Linked DNA regions of Homo sapiens: region 2 is linked to region 1. The links are contacts of gene promoters, found by promoter capture Hi-C in blood cells and fetal thymus (Javierre and others, 2016). All regions are on one chromosome and are shown on one strand. Each heading gives the region's core, a stretch centred on a gene start or on the middle of the fragment in contact. The rest is flanking DNA. Distances are from core to core; before and after follow the strand shown.

What was found. Contacts are between HindIII fragments. The CHiCAGO score rates a contact against its expected background, and 5 or more counts as called.
Region 2: a contact is called between a fragment that was not itself captured here and the fragment with the promoter of ZNF714 in region 1, in 1 of 17 cell types (fetal thymus). The highest score is 5.3, in fetal thymus.

Annotation. Positions count from the first base shown.
Region 1 is chr19:21,080,825-21,083,755 of GRCh38, reverse strand. ZNF714 (zinc finger protein 714) reads right to left here and starts at 1,553. Exons shown (of 5, transcript NM_182515.4): 1 at 1,408-1,553. RefSeq lists an enhancer at 1,065-1,214. The HindIII fragment of the contact is 3,534 bases long and covers 110-2,931 here.
Region 2 is chr19:21,828,472-21,831,402 of GRCh38, reverse strand. All of the region lies in intron 1 of ZNF43 (zinc finger protein 43), which reads left to right. Among named protein-coding and RNA genes, the nearest start is that of ZNF43, 6.2 kb to the left of the region's middle. The HindIII fragment of the contact is 3,605 bases long and covers 1-2,931 here.

The DNA of each region.
Region 1 (2,931 bases), core at 304-2,803:
AGGCACAGAGAAATTTTACAATACAGTGTCAGGGGATTATTCTTTGCTTTCTTCTCATGGGAAAGTTACAAACAGGTAACAAACCTTTTAAAAAGCGTCATTTAAAGCTTTGTCAAAAAATAATTAATTAAAATATGGTATACAAAAGTACACTAAAAGACAAACAGGTGATAACGTGAATTAGGGAGGAAAAGCTGGCATTAGGGAATGCCAGGAGGAACTGGAAATTTAATATCTTACTGCAAGCCAGAGTGAGGCTGGAGATATGGGGGACGGGAGGTTAGATTTAAGACAGTGCTTGGGACACAGTTGAAAAATGCACCAGAAAATCAGTTCCCCATGGAGTGTGAAAATAATTAAGCGGCGGGAAATTAGACTGAGGTGTCTCTAGTCCCTGGATTCCTACTTTTAAAAAAATCTGGCTGGGCGCGGTGGCTCACGCCTGTAATCCCAGCACTTTGGGGAGGCCGTGGAGGGCAGATCACCTGAGGTCGGGAGTTCGAGACCAGCCTGACCAACATGCAGAAACCCGTCTCTACTAAAACCACAAAATTAGACGGGCGTGGTGGCGCATGCCTGTAATCCCAGCTACCTGGGAGGCTGAAGCATTGGATCGCTTGAACCCGGGAGGCAGAGGTTACGGTGAGACAAGATCGCCCCATTGCACTCCAGCCTGGGCAACAAGAGCGAAACTCCATCTTAAAAAAAAAAAATCTAACTGAGGTGCATTTTTAGTAAATTACTACATTGAGAGAAACAAAATTCATCCTTAACCAACTATAAACTGCCAATTAACATCTAATTACATAACCAGGAAATTTTCACCTTTATTTTACAAATTAAGAAACTATGTATCTGAACCTAACCAATTACTGAATTTGGTTTTCTTCATCATGCTGTTTATAAAAGTCTTTACTTCAAGCCCCGCCCATAAACCATAAATTACAAACCACAGCTGGGTGCTCCACAATTTTTGAATCACGCTTTGATTAAATGCTTTAGTGTTTTAACGGTGACTCCCATACATTTTCAACAGAAGAGGAACTGGAACCCCACGGACCCATTCATAAACCCGCACCCCGAGTCAGGATTCTACCCCTGGGACCCTCCAGTGGTCCCTGCACAATCCGGGAGAGACGCGCCGCTGAGGGTCCAGAGCTGCCCTGAGAGGACTCCAGGTCAGGGCCCAGTCACTGCGCAGGGAAAAGACAGGACGCCCGGGATCCCGCAGTCAGCGCAGCCGCCATCTTATGGCTGAAGGGGACTGAGGCCGAGCTGAGCAAGGAGAACTCCGGGCGCAGATTGTAGAGTTGACTGCGGGGAGGCCTAAGTCCCACCACAGCCACTTCCCACCGCTTACAACCCGCCCCTTCCCCTCTCTCGGGATGTCGGACCCGGCACTCTCACCATTTCTAGGCTTCCGGGGTACCTGGCGTCTTAGCTGTGGATCTCTCAATACCTGCAGGTCACAGGGCCACAGAGGCTGGGCCTCTGCGAGCAGAGGACACAGGGCAGTGAAGGCGAGACCTGCAGCTCCAGCTGCAGCGAGAGACAAAGGCCCCGCCACATCCCCGAAGCCGTCCTGTCCGCTCCAGCTGCAGGCCTGATTGGACGGTTCCCAACCCAGCGTCGCTGATTGGATAACTTTTAAAACCCCACCTTCTCGTGCCCTGAGTGACAGAAGATGTGATCAGTTGCTGGGCTGAGTGAAGAAAGGGTGACAGCCTAGGCTGCAGCCTTCTCAGGCAGGGCTTCCTCCCAGAGCTGAGCCAGGCCCACCCCAGAGGGAATTTGCCTTTAAACTTGTGTGTAAAGTCATATGCATTTATAAATAATATATGGCTCTTCACAAAGGAAAAAATATAATTTTATAATAACAATTATTTTAAAATTTCAGATTTTATGACCTTCCTGGCTTCTTTCTGGTCTTTGAGCAGGCAGGCTGAGATTTTAGAAAGGAGGTAATCCTCTGAAATAAAATGTGAGCCATATGTGAATTTTAAGTTTTCTAGTAGCCAAACTTGAAAAAGAAACAAGAACAGGTTGAATTGATTGTAACAATTTAATTAACCCAATATATCAAAAAAATTTTCATTTTAATGTGTGAGAAATATGTAATTATTAATAAAGTATATAAATATTTGGAACTAAATCTTTGAAACTAACTCTGTATTTTACCTTTCTAGCATCGCACTTCAGACCAGGCGCCACACATGGCCAATAACTGCCACATTGAAGTGCAGCTCTGATGTCAGCGGTGTGAAGGGCCCAAGCAAACCTTTTCTGCCAGAGGTGAAGGAAGAGCCTCTCCCTACCAACATCTCTCTTCCGTTCCGGGGGTGGAACAGATAGTGGCCAAAGAAAGAGGAGACGGCAGCAGGAATAAAATAATTACAAGTAAAGCACTGCTGGATGAGATCACAGGCGCGCGCCACCATGCTCGGCTAATTTTTTGTATTTTTAGTAGACACGGGGTTTCACCATGTTGGCCAGGCTGGTCCTGAACTCCTGACCTCAGGTGATCTGCCCGCTTTGGCCTCCCAAAGTGTTGGGATTACAGGCGTGAGCCACCGCACCCAGCCTCAAAATGTTTTTTCTTTCTTTTTTTTTAATTTTAAAAAATGATGGGAACATGTCAAAGGGAGCCAGCCTGAAAGAACTCCCAATGGTCCATCCTGGAACAATGTTAGCATCCAAATGAATAATTAGAGCACTGACCTATAAAATAAATCAAGTCAAATAAATAAATACCCATGCATTTACACTGATACACAAAAAACTTTAAATAAATAAAAAAGAAAAAAGGATAGGGAAATTTTTTTTTACAGAATTCCAAATACTAATCAACATAGATAAAATGCTAAAGAAACCATCACAAAACCACCAGTTATTATTGTATCCAAGGTTAACTGAGGAGTGTAAAAATTGTAA
Region 2 (2,931 bases), core at 290-2,789, 750 kb before region 1:
GTGACAGAGCAAGACACCGTCTCAAAAAAATAAAATAAAAATTAAAAAAAAAAAATTTTCTGCTGAGGCTATAGGGTTTTCTAGGTGTAGAATCATGCTACCTGCAAACAAGAGTAGTCTGACTTTCTTTCTCTTTATCTTGCCTGATTGCTCTGTCCAGTATTTCCAATGCTATGTTGAATAGGAGTGATGAGAGAAGGCATCTTTGTCTTGTGCCAGTTTTCAAAGAGAAATGCTTCCAACTTCTGTGTGTCCATTCAGTGTATTGGCTTTGAGTTTGTGACAGATAACTCATTATTTTGAAGTATGTACCTTTAATGCCTAGTTCGTTGAGGGTTTTAACATGAAGAATGTTAAATTTTCTTGAAAGATTTTTCTGCATCTATTGAGATAATCTTGTGGTTTTGGTCTTTAGTTCTGTTTATGTGATTAATCACATTTATTGATTTGTGTATGTTGAAATAACCTTGCATCCCAGGGATATAGGCTACTTGATCATAGTAGATTAGCTTTTTGATGTGCTGCTGGATTCAGTTTGCCAGTATTTTGTTGAGAATTTTTCCATCATTTTTTATTAAGATCATTGGCATGAAGTTTTCTTTTTTTGTTTTATACCAGGTTTTGGTATCAGAATAATGCTATTATGTAATGAGTTGGGGAAGAGTTCCTTCTCAATTTTTTGGAATGGCTCTAGTAAGAATGGTATCAGCTTTTTTTTTTTTGTACATCTGGTAGAATTCTTTTGTGAATATGTCTGATTCTGGTTTTTTATTGGTTTCTAGGCTATTTATTATACTTCAATTTTGAATCTTGTTGGTCTCTTCAGGGATACTTTTTTTTTTTTTTTCAGTCTTTGGAGGATGTACGTGTCTAGGAATTGATCTATTCTAGATTTTCCGGTTTGTTTACATAGAGGTGTTCGTTACAGACTTGAATAATTATTTTGTTGTTGTTGGGTCAGTGTTAATGGCCATTTTGTCATTTCTAATCGTGTTTATTTGGATCTTCTCTTTCTTCATTAATCTCTCTAGAGTGCTATTTATCTTATTAATTCTTTCAAAGATTTTACTCCTGGATTTCTTTTTTTGTTTGTTTGTTTGTTTTTTGTTTTGTTTTTTTTTTTCATTTTGTTTTTGAAACAGAATCTCTCTCTATTGCCCAGGCTGGAGTGCAGTGGCACAACCTTGCCTCACTGCAACCTCCGCCTCACTGCAACCTCCGCCTCCCTGGTTCAAGCAATTCTCCTGCCTCAGCCTCCTGAGTAGCTGGGATTACAGGTGCCCACCAATACACATGGCCAATTTTTGTATTTTTAGTAGAGACCGGGTTTCACTATTTTGCCAGGCTGGTCTCGAACTCCAGACCTCAAGTGATCTGCCCACCTCGGCCTCCCAAAATGCTGCGATTACAGGGGTGAGCCACTGCACCCAGCCTTCTCCATATTTTTATCATTTTTTTGTCTAACTCTCCAGTTCAGATCTGATTTTCATTTCTTGTCCTCTGTTAGCTTAGAGGTCAGTTTGCTTTTTCTTCTCTTGTTCTTTTATGATGTCAGGTTTTGTGTTTTTTTGTTTTTTGAGACGGAGCTCAATGAATCCAATGTCTACTGAAATTCAGATGTTCAAGAGTTCAATATGTCCAGAGACCTGGCTGTTGTAAAAGAAAATATAAATCAGAGGCTTTATTATCCTACCTGAAAATAAGAGAGACTATCTTGTTCAACTCTTTTATCTTAAAGCATTTAGATTATATGGAGATATTTTTATTGCTTTTTTGAAATATATTTAAATCATATTAACAGCCAAATCTTTTGGCATTCTTTTGACTCAAGATTGTCTTTATTTAAGACCTCAGATTCATTGCTTATCCTTGATTTGGGAAAATTTAATTTTTTTTTTAGTCTTTTAAAGTAGACACAGATTTGTTTAGATTAAAGCTCATTTTAAGAGCACACAGAAGTTTAGTACGAAGAACGAATTAAATTTAGAAATACAGAATGGTAAAAACTAAAAAATACTGAATAAATTTCTTTGACAGAAAACTGATAATCCAAGGTAATCTAATATTTGCAGGCTGAAGTACTTACACTGCAAAAGCAAGAACAGTTCAGTGTGTAAACTCAACCTTGGAGTCTGTGTAGTTTTTTTTGTGTGTGGTGTTTTTTGTTTTTTTTTCCTTTGTGATGGAGTCTCACTCTGTCACCCAGGCTCGAGTGCAGTGGCACGATCTCGGTTCACTGTGACCTCTGCCTCATGGGTTCAAGCGATTCTCCTGCCTTAGCCTCCTGAGTAGCTGGAGTAGCTGGGACTACAGGCACGTGCCACCACGTCCGGCTAATTTTTTTTTTTTTTTTTTTTTTTTTTTTTTTTTGAGACAGAGTCTCTCTCTTTCGCCCAGGCTGGAGTGCAGTGGCGCCATTTTGGCTCACTGCGATCTCCGCCTCCCTGGTTCACGCCATTCTCCTGGCTCAGCCTCCCAAGTAGCTGGGAGTATAGGCGCCCGCCAGGGCACCCGGCTATTTTTTTGTATTTTTAGTAGAGACGGGGTTTCACCGTGTTAGCCAGGATGGTCTCGATCTCCTGACCTCGTGATCTGCTCGCTGCGGCCTCCCAAAGTGCTGGGATTACAGGCGTGAGCCACCGCGTCCGGCTGTATTTTTTTTTTTTCCTTAAATTTACTTTTTTTGAGACGGAGTTTCACTCCTGTTGCCCAGGCTGGAGTACAATGGCATGATCTCAGCTTACTGCAACCTCCGCCTACTGGGTTCAAGTGATTCTCCTGCCTCAGCCTCCTGAGTAGCTGGGGTTACAGGCATGTGCCACCATGCCTGGCTAAATTTTGTACTTTTAGAGTAGAGACAGGGTTTCTCCATGTTGGTCAGGCTGGTCTCGAACTCCTGACCTCAGGTGATCCACCCGCCTCAGCTTCCCA